2 separate regions of the Homo sapiens genome follow, and region 1 is linked to region 2. The links are contacts of gene promoters, found by promoter capture Hi-C in human tissues and cell types (Jung and others, 2019). All regions are on one chromosome and are shown on one strand. The core of a region is centred on a gene start or on the middle of the fragment in contact, and the rest is flanking DNA. Distances in the headings are between cores, read along the strand shown. Region 1 holds the start of ZNF415 (zinc finger protein 415). Region 2 overlaps ZNF845 (zinc finger protein 845).

Region 1 (5,687 bases), core at 718-3,217, 220 kb before region 2:
CTCAACACTTTTAATGTTCCTTTTGAGCAACGTTGTCCAATCCGCAGCCCAGGAAGGCTTTGAATGCAGCCCAACACAAATTCCTAAACTTCCTTAAAACATTTTGAGATTTTCTTGCAACTTTTTTTTTTTTTTTTTTTTTTTTTTTTAGCTCATCAGCTATTGTTAGTGTTAGTGTACTTTATGTGTGGCCCAAGACAATTCTTCTTCCAATGTGGCCCAGGGAAGCCAAAAGATTGGACACCCCTGCTTTAGAGAGACACTATGTAGTGACAGTCTTTCACTTTCTGCCCAGCTTTACTCTCCCACTCCCCCTTCCCCTCCCCCTGCCCCAACGCCAGGGAAGGGGAAGAGGATGACCTGTGGAATTAATGAGTCAAGTCACTTCCCTCTGCCTTAACAGGGATTGCAAGTGGAAGCTAACTTCTGATGCCATAATTATAAAATGCACCAGCCTTAATAGACAGGAGCTTTGCAATTCTCATCATCTGTGCATTTTAAACTTATAAAGACAGAAATCAACAGGTCAAAAGGTAGTCATCACATCCAGTCAGTTCACAACTCACCTGGACCTGGGGTCCCCCTCTTTCCTCATTATGGTGTGTTTCCCTCCCTCGTTCCGTACATCGCTCTCATTCTCACCTTCTTTCTCTAGCTCTTTCCTTCCCCTTTATTTTCTCCCTAGGATTCTGCTCATTTTGAGCCCCTCTCCTCTCCTGCTGCTCCTCCCCGTCTTCCCTCTATTCTTTCTCTTCCACTTGCTCTTTCCATTCTTGCAATGTATTTAATTCCTCTTTCTTCCTAATCTTTTCATTGTCCCAGTCTCCACATATTTCTGGCTCTTTCTTCCCCATTTCAGCACTCCCTGTTAAATTCCCTCTTCCCTGTTACACACCGTTGTCCCCACTCTTTGGCACCCCCAGATCCCAGGCCTCCCCGTGCTGTGGTTCTCCCTCTGCTTCTCCTTGTCATCGGCTGCCCCCTCTTGCTGTCCCGGTACCACACTGCCCTGTCTGCCCTGGCTCCAAATCCCTTCTGCTCTCCCCCACTCTCTGTCTGAGGAGCCTCCTCCTTTGCTGCCCCTCTCCCTACCTGGCTGTCCTTCATCTCTCTGGATACTGTGCTTTTTCTCGAAATGTGTCTAGTTACTTTTCTCTCCCTGCTACTTTCTCGGCTTCTTCTTCCACTCTTACTGTCTCTGAAAATCTCTAACCATCCTCTACTTTGCCATCTGTTTATTGGTTTGCCTCATTCCTTCCTGTCTCAGGTTTTCTACTGCTCTCTCTGTCCCTCGATCCCTTTGGCCCACACATTCACAGGACGGTTTGGGGTAAGACGCCTGCATCCTGGAGGAGCGCATTTTCCACGGGGTGGAGGAGGGCAGGCAAGAACATCGGGTGTCACAGGACAGGCCCTGAGCACCTCCCCAGCGCGGGCTCAGGGGAGGCCTGGGGAGCAGCGGGGCCCGGCACGAGGAGGAGGGAGGTGGGGCGCGACAGCGCCTTCAGACAGGGGTGGGGTCTGCAGGATCCCAGGACCAGGCAGAGGACGCAAGGCTCCCCGGGACTGCGGCTGCAGCTGCGGCGCTGCGCTCCAGGGGCCGACGAGGGCAAGGCTGGGAGGCACCCAGGACGGGAATACACCTCTTGGGTGAAGACTTTAAAAAGCCCGGGGATGGGGGAGGGGGTCAGGAAAAGGTTTTAAGCGGGAGGAAGAAGCAAAAGGCCGGGGACGGGGAGCAGCCTCAAAGCGACTTCAACCCAAAGGGAAGCGACTCCGGACCCACACTGCGAGGCCTGTATTCACCTGGGGTGGAGTGTACGGGGATTTTAAGGGCCGTATCGACCCTGGACATCGGCTGTGGAAATGGGAAACAGGGAGCGCAGGTTTAATCTACACAGAGGGTCACTCACGCTCGACGCCGTCACCTTCACCCAACGCGATCCGTTTCCGGGCCTGTAGGAAACTGCGCATGCGCGGAGAGAAGAGCCCGGGCAGCCTGAAGGAATGGCTGGAGTGGGCGGGGTCTGCGCCGCTTTAAGGTAAAAAAATCAGAGTTGTGTGGGCCACTTATGGTGGAAACCAAAATGTTTTCCACTTACCAAGTTGAAAACGGTTTATGTTAAAACTATTTTGCCTGCAGGTTGGACCCGATCCTGCTAGGGAGTCTCCTGCAGCTTAGCAGTCCGGGAACTGGGATTTCGGTGGGGAATCCAAAACTAGCAGTGATTGGATCCATAAAAGTTACCAAAAAACAAAAATGAAGTGTCTGGAATCACTCCACTGGATTTCAAGACTACCAATATAGGAAAGGTAATAAAAACTGTGTGGTTTTGGGGCAATAAAAGACATATGGATTGATGCAATACAGTAAGAGAGTACAAAAATAGCCTCTACAGGTACTTCCAACTGATTTTTGACAAAGTTACCAAGGGAATTGAATGAAGAATTTTTAAAAACTGGTGAGGGGCTAACTTAATATCCACAGCAGGAAAGAAGTCATCTCTACTCAAACTTCACAACCGTACAGACATTAGTTCAACATTGACCATAGCCTAAATGTAAAATATCAAACCATAAAATGGTATCCTGTAGGAGACTGAAAGAAAAAATTACTCACAATAAAATCGTAAGAATCAAGAGCTTGTTCAAAAATTCTTAGCCATAGCAGCAAAAGCATGATTCATTAAAGAAAAAAAAAATCAACTGGTATTTACCAAATTAAAAACTTTTGGTCTGTGAAAGACCTTCAGACGATGAAAGAAAAGGTATTTGATATGGTTTGGCTCAGTGTCCCCATCAAATCTCATTTTCAAGTATAAACCTCAGGTGTTGAGGGAGGGACCTGGTGGGAGGTGACTGGATCATGGGGGTGGTTTTCCCCAAGCCGTTCTCATGATAGTGAGCTCTCAGGAGATCTCATGGTTTAAAAATCTGTGATAGTTCCTCCTTTGATCGCTCTCTCTCCTGCTGCAAGCAAGACGTGCCTTGCTTCGCCTTTGCCTTCCTCTATGATTGTAAGTTTCCTGAGGGCTCCCTAGCCATGCGGAACTGTGAGTCAATTAAACCTCTTTTGTTTATAAATTACCCAGTCTCAGGTTGTCACAGGAGGGTTTAGGCAGTGTGAAAATGGACTAATACAGTACTGAATAATAGAAAATATTTGCCTACCATATATCTGACATAAAACTGGTATGTGGAATGTATAAAGAATCCTAGAACGACTTAAAAAAAAAGCAAAATAATCAAATTAGAAAATGGATAGAACTATGAAGAGACATTTCACTGAAGCAGATATACTGAGATAAATGGGCACATAAAAAGATTTCCAACATCACCATCCATCAAATCTCAGACCTCAGCATATTCTGCTTTCTCCATGTGAACCCCTGGATGCTGTCAGAGATCATGAGAAACACAGGAGCTTCTACTGAACAGTCCAGTTGATGTGTATTAGCAACCTGTAATTGTTTTTGGAAACGAACAATGGAAACACAGATACAAAAATATTCTCAGCTCAAGAAATATGCACTTTGTCATTATTAGTGATTTTTTTTTTTTTTTGAGACAGAGTCTTGTTCTGTCACCCAGGCTGGAGTGCGGTGGTGTGATCTCAGCTTACTGTAACCTCTACCTCCCAGGCTCAAGCGATTCTCCTGCCTCAGCCTCTTGAGTAGCTTCAACCACACGCACGCGCCACCACACCCAGCTATTTTTTGTATTTTTAGTAGAGATGGGTTTTCACCATGTTGGCCAGGCTGGTCTCCAATTCCTGACCTCAGGAGATCCACCCCCCTTGGCCTCCCAAAGTGCTGGGATTACAGGGGTGAGCTACAGCGCCTGGCCACCACTAGAACTAACACCTCAGGTACTGGATGCCTCCTTCGAAAGATTGGATAATCGTTCTTACAGGATTATGTGGTAATGAGTGTCTCTGTCATTCATTTAGGTAAGATGCATACGCAATAGTGATCTATAAAATATAGACTTAATTGATCTATAAAAATATAGATTTAATACAAAGTTACCACAATCACAATGATATATGAAGATAAACCATTTAAAAATTACAAGAGATACTAACAAAATAGGTATAGATGGTGAGTAAAGGACAAAAATAACTAGCATTGTTACTGTAGCATCATCATTAAAAGCTTTGTCTTTGCAACCAGACAACATGGATTCAAATCTCGATTCTGCCTCTTACTGAAATGTGACAAGATGAGTCTTTTAAAGCAGAATATGCTGAGATCTGAGATTTGATGGATGGTGATGTTGGAAATCTTTTTATGTGCCTATTTATCTCAGTATAACTGCTTCAGTGAAATGTCTCTTCATAGTTCTACCCATTTTCTAAATATATATATATATATATATATATATATATATATATATATAGAGAGAGAGAGAGAGAGAGAGAGAGAGAAAGAGAGAGAGAGAGAGAGAGAGAGATGGAGTCCCGCTCTGTCACTGAGACTGGAGTGCAATGGTGGGAACTCGGCTAACTGCAACATCCGCCTCCCAGGCTCAAGCAATTCTCCTGCCTCAGCCTCCCGAATAGCTGGGATTACAGGCGCCCGCCATCACACCCAGCTAATTTTTGTATTTTTAGTAGAGACGGGGTTTCACCATGTTGATCAGGCTGGTCTCGAATTCCTGACCTCAGGTGATCCCCCCGCCTCGGCCTCCCAAAGTGCTGGGATTACAGGCATGAGCCACTGTGCCCAGCCTAATTTGATTATTTTGCTTATCTGTCCTAAGTTTCCTCACCTCTGAAATGAGAATATCATTAATACTTATTTCAGGAGCTGATGATTCAGTTGTTACACATAAAGCATTAATAACTGTGATTCTTACTCTAAATGTGATTGATATAAAATATATATGCAAAGATAAATCACTTATTAAAGAATATATATCAGTTTTTTAAAATGGAAACAAATCTAAGGGGAGTATATTAAATGGCAGCTGTCATTGCAAAAGTTGCACAAATATCATGTTTTGCTGTAAGATCCTCTGGCTCAGAAAAGAAATACCAGCCACAGTAGGAAGTTGAATTGCCTCCAGGGATTCAATGAGAGAAATTATCTCCTTTGCATAAATGATAATTAATATCTTGGGGACTCTCTTATTAACTGTATTTTCATTTACTTCTCCAGATGCTGGTTAACCTCCACACGCTTGATTTTCAAGCATCTGATCTTTGATAACTTCCATATTAAGAGACTTCATTTCACCATCTAGTATCCCTGTACTTTAATTGAACTAAAGATTTACAAGGACACTCCATTTTCCTATTTACAGAGAACCTAGTCTGTACCTGCCATTGTTTTACATACATTTTCATGTCACAAAATTTTATTTCTAAACAACACCCTCATTTATGTATTTTCTAAGTGTTCACTGGAGTAACACAGAGAAGAAATGCAGTAAACATATAATTTGGATTAAAATGTATGGAAGGAAAAAATCCTTAAAGTAAAAATCATATACAAAAACAAAAAGTCATTTTACTACTATTGGCTCATGGCTGTAATCCTAGCACTTTGGGAAGCTGAGGCAGGAGGAATGCTTGAGGCCAAGAGTTCAAGACCAACCTGGCCAACATAGCGAGACCCCACGTCTAAAAAGAAAAAGAAAAAAAAAAAGAAAAGAAGCTATGGAGAATATGTTACACAATACCATAA
Region 2 (5,293 bases), core at 1,013-3,512:
AAATCATTGGAGAATCCATAATGAAGAGAGATCGTACAAGTGTAATAGATGTGGCAAATTTTTCAGACATCGTTCATACCTTGCAGTTCATTGGCGAACTCATAGTGGAGAGAAACCTTACAAATGTGAAGAATGTGATGAAGCTTTCAGTTTCAAATCAAACCTTCAAAGACATAGGAGAATTCATACTGGAGAGAAACCTTACAGGTGTAATGAATGTGGCAAGACCTTTAGTCGGAAGTCATACCTTACATGCCATCGTAGACTTCATACTGGAGAGAAACCTTACAAGTGTAATGAGTGTGGCAAGACCTTCGGTCGAAATTCAGCCCTTATAATTCACAAGGCAATTCATACTGGAGAGAAACCTTACAAGTGTAATGAGTGTGGCAAGGCCTTCAGTCAGAAGTCATCCCTTACATGCCATCTTAGACTTCATACTGGAGAGAAACCTTACAAATGTGAAGAATGTGACAAAGTTTTCAGTCGCAAATCAAGCCTTGAAAAACACAGGAGAATTCATACTGGAGAGAAACCATACAAATGTAAGGTTTGTGACAAAGCTTTTGGGCGTGATTCACACCTGGCACAACATACTAGAATTCACACTGGAGAGAAACCTTACAAGTGTAATGAATGTGGCAAGAACTTCCGTCACAATTCAGCCCTTGTAATTCATAAGGCAATTCATAGTGGAGAGAAACCTTACAAGTGTAATGAGTGTGGCAAGACCTTCCGTCACAATTCAGCCCTTGAAATTCATAAGGCAATTCATACTGGAGAAAAACCTTACAAGTGTAGTGAATGTGGCAAGGTTTTTAATAGAAAAGCAAACCTTTCACGTCATCATAGACTTCATACTGGAGAGAAACCTTACAAGTGTAATAAATGTGGTAAGGTTTTTAATCAACAAGCACACCTTGCATGTCATCATAGAATTCATACTGGAGAGAAACCTTACAAGTGTAATGAGTGTGGCAAAACCTTCCGTCACAATTCAGTCCTTGTAATTCATAAGACAATTCATACTGGAGAGAAACCTTACAAGTGTAATGAATGTGGCAAGGTTTTTAATCGAAAAGCAAAACTTGCACGTCATCATAGAATTCATACTGGAAAGAAACATTAGAAATATGAAGAATGTGACAAAGTTTACAGTTGTAAATCAAGTCTTGAAAGACAGGAGAATTCATACTGGAGAGAAAGCTTACAAATGTAAGAGTTTGTGACAAGAATCTTGGGCGTGATTCACACCTGGCCCAACAAACTAGAAGTCACACTGGAGAGAAACCTTACAAGTGTACTGAGTGTGGCAAAGCCTTTAGTGGGCAGTCAACACTTATTCACCATCAGGCAATCCATGGTATAGGGAAACTTTACTAATGTAATGATTATCACAAAGTCTTCAGTAACACTACAACCGTTTCAAATCATTGGAGAATCCATAATGAGAGATTTTGAAAGTGTAATAAATGTGGCAAATTTTTCAGACATTGTTCATACCTTGCAGTTCATCGGTGAACTCATGCTGGAGAGAAACCTTACAAATGTCATGATTGTGGCAAGGTCTTCAGTCTAGCTTCATCTTATGCAAAACAGGAGACTTCATACAGGAGACAAACTTCACAAGTATGATGATTGCAGCAAAGCCTTTACTTCACGTTCACACCTAATTAGACATCAGAGAATCCATACTGGACAGAAATCTTACAAATGTCATCAGTGTGGCAAGGTCTTCAGTCTGAGATCACCCCTTAAGGAACATCAGAAAATTCATTTTTGAGATGATTGTTCCAAATGCAATGAGTATAGCAAACCATCAAGCATTAATTGGCATTAGAGTCAATTCAGCATTGACTTGAGTTTGAATTGACTTAACATTGAGTTCAAGCATTAATTGACATTAAAGTGTTTATGTTAAGAAGATTGGGCCAGGCGGGGTGGCTCACGCCTGTAATCCCAGCACTTTGGGAGGCCAAGACCAATAGATCACTTGAGGTCAGGAGTTTGAGACCAGACTGGCCAACAGACATGAGTCACTTTTCCCACCCTGTATTTTGTTTCTTTAATAAAAACTGTTACGGGTTTTTATGGGTATCTGTTGAATCTAAATCACATTTGTTTGTATAATCATTCAACAATATTAAGACTTCCAATCCATCAATATGGGTTGTATGTCTATTTAGTTTTTTTGATCAATGTAGATTTCAAGGTACAAGCTTCTCACCTCCTTAATTCAGTTTATTTGTAAGTATTAAGTTTCATAGCAAATTGAAGTGTGTTCATAAGTTTCTTTAAACATTATTTATTGTTAATGTAAGGAAATTCAACTAATTTTGGGTGCTGATTTTGTATTCTGCAAATACATTGAGTGGGTTTATTAGTATCAGTAAAATCTTGGTTGATTCTTTGTGATTTTCTTTCTTTTTTTTTTGAGACAGTCTCACTCTGTTACCCAGGCTCTTTTCTTTTTTTTTGAGAAGGAGTCTCACTCTTGTCACTTGGACTGGAGTACAATGGCACGATCTTGGCTCACTGCAGCCTCTGCCTTTCGGGTTTAAGTGATTCTCCTGCCTACTAACTGAGATTACAGGTGCCTGCCACCATGTCCGTATAATTTTTTTGTATTTTTAGTAGAGACGGGGTTTCACCATGTTGACCAGGTTTTTCTTGAACTCCTGACTTCAGGTGATCCGCCCCCATCAGCATCCCAAAGTTCTGGGATTACAGGTGTGAGCCACCGCACCCAGCCAGTGATTTTCTATATAGAATGTCGTATCATCTACAAGGAAATAATTTTTTTTTTTGAGACAATGTCTCTCTCTGTCGCCAGGCTAGAGTGCCGTGGAATGATCTTTGCTCACTGCAACCTCTGTCTCCCACGTCCAAGCAATTCTGTCTCAGCCTCCTGAGTAGCTGGGACTACAGGCGCATGTCACCACACCTAGCTAATTTATTTATTTTTTTTATTTTAGTAAAGACGGGGTTTCACCATGTTGGCCCAGATGGTGGGCCAACATGGTGAGTACCTTGAAGAGAACTTGAAAGAATATGTTAGATCGCCTAACCTCATTATCCGCCCACTTCGGACTTGCAAATTGCTGGGATTATGGGTGTGAGCCATGAGCCCGGCCCCAACAAATGTAATTTTACTTCTGTCTTTCTGATTTGGATGAGTTTTATTTCTTTTGCTATTTAATTGCTCTGCCTAGGACAGCCAGTATTTATTGAATATCAGGGGTGAGAGCATTCTTGCATCATGTGATATCCTACAGGAAAACCATTCCATTTTCCTTCATTGGTTATTTCAGCTGTGGTCATTTCATGGATGATTTTTATATTTTTGAGGTAAAACTCTACCTATATTGTTTAGGATTTTTACGAAGAATGAATATTGAGTTCTGTGAAATGCTTTTTCTCTATCTATTGAGATAATGTGTTTTTTATCTGTCATTCTGTGCAAGTGTGTATCCCATTGATTTGAGTATGTTGAACCATCCTTGCATCCCATGAATAGGTAGCACTTGGATGTTTACAATCCCTTTTTATATCCTCTTGAATACAGTTTGCTAGTATAAGGGTCTTCAAGAAGTTCATGGAAAAATACATATTATGAAAAATTTGTGCATAAATTTCACACTTTTTGTACCAAAATAAACCAGTATAAACTTGTTATAACGTCTGAACAGGCTCTAGTTTGAGGCACTCAGAAGGATAAGACATCAGTTTGAAAAGAACCTCTATCACAGCAATACAAATTCTGTTAAAACAAGAAGAAACATCAAATTTACGATGAGACCAGACGCAGTGGCTCAGGCCTGTAATCCCAGCGGTTTTAGAGGCCCAGGCAGGTGGGTGACGTGAGCCTAGGGATTCAAGACCAGCCTGGGCGACATAGGGGACCTCTTCTCTGCTAAAAGTAAAAAAAGTCAGCCAGGTGTGGTGGTGCACTGCTGTGGTCCCAGCTACTCTGGGCACTGAAGTGGGAGGATCAGTTGAAGCAGGGATTTTGAGGCTGAAGTGAGCCCTGATCTCACCACTGCACTCCAGCCTGGGTGACAGAGCTAGACCCTGTCTCAAACAAGCAAATAAATGAGAGGCATAATTCCTCCTTTGAGAATAAAGGAAAAGATTTCCCTTCCTTTTGTCTCTTTTCTCAGGACGTTTATTTAGAAAATTTGTAAATGAGGCCGGGCGTGGTGGCTCACGCCTGTAATCCCAGCACTTTGGGAGGCTAAGGTGGGCGGATCACGAGGTCAGGAGATCGAGACCATCCTGGCTAACACGGTGAAACCCCGTCTCTACTAAAAATACAAAAAATTAGCTGGGCGAGGTGGCAGGCACCTGTAGTCCCAGCTACTCGGGAGGTTGAGGCAGGAGAATGGCGTGAACCCAGGGGGGCGGAACCTGCAGTGAGCCGAGATCGCACCACTGCACTCCAGCCTGGGTGACAGCGAGACTCTGTCTCAAAAAAAAAAAAAAAAAAAAAAGAAAATTTGTAAATGTATTTTCTCTGTCTTCAGAAGTGGTATTTTTTAGAAACAATAAAACTTGTTTTCATCTTAGTGGTGATCCAGGGGTGTTTTTCTAAAGGACTTGGGAGTTCTGTCTTTGAAATGCCAACAACAAAAAAGATAGTACATCTATCTCAGTAGTAAATTAAGTAATTCAAAATGAAGCTGGGTGCGGTGCCTCACGCACTTTGGGACAGTGAGGCAGGTGGATCACCTGAGGTCAGGAGTTCGAGACCAGCATGACCAACGTGGTAAAACCCCATCTCTGAGATACAAAGGAGGTTGCAGTGAGTGGAGGTTGCACCACTGCACTCCAGCCTGGGCAACAAGAGTGAAACTACTTCTCAAAAAAAAAGAAAAAAAAATCAAGTAATTCCAATTTAAAGCTGTTGGACCTTTAAATAATCCTACTTTTTTTTTTTTTTTGAGATGGGGTACCCCTCTGCATCACAGGCTGGAGTGTGGTGGCCTAATGTCAGCTCACTGCAACCTCCACCTCCCGGGTTCAAGTGAATCTCCTGCCTCAGCCTCCGGAGTAGCTGGTATTACAGGCATGTGCCACCACGCCCAACTAATTTCTGTATCTCTAGAAGAGATGGGATTTTGCCATGTTGGTCAGCTTGGTCTCCAACTCCAGACCTGAAGAAAGTGATCCGTCTACCTTGACCTCCCAAAGTGCTGGGATTACAGGCATGAGCCACTGCCTCCAGCCTCTTCTTTTTTTTTTTTTTGAGATGGAGTTTCTCTTGTTGCCCAGGCTGAAGTGAAATGATGCTATC

Evidence for each region. The method cuts DNA at HindIII sites, captures the fragments that hold promoters and counts their contacts. A contact is called where the count stands out against the background at its distance.
Region 1: a contact is called between the fragment with the promoter of ZNF415 here and a fragment that was not itself captured in region 2, in 2 of the 25 tissues and cell types used here (bladder and pancreas).

Annotation. Positions count from the first base shown.
Region 1 is chr19:53,130,943-53,136,629 of GRCh38, forward strand. It overlaps ZNF415 (zinc finger protein 415), which reads right to left and starts at 1,968. Exons shown (of 4, transcript NM_018355.4): 1 at 1,914-1,968. It overlaps ZNF347 (zinc finger protein 347), which reads right to left. Exons shown (of 5, transcript NM_032584.3): 5 at 3,993-5,687. The HindIII fragment of the contact is 11,962 bases long and covers 1-5,687 here.
Region 2 is chr19:53,352,460-53,357,752 of GRCh38, forward strand. It overlaps ZNF845 (zinc finger protein 845), which reads left to right. Exons shown (of 4, transcript NM_138374.3): 4 at 1-4,447. The coding sequence ends at 1,129. It also overlaps the pseudogene LOC107987264. Among named protein-coding and RNA genes, the nearest start is that of ZNF525, 11 kb to the right of the region's middle. The HindIII fragment of the contact is 6,579 bases long and covers 1-5,293 here.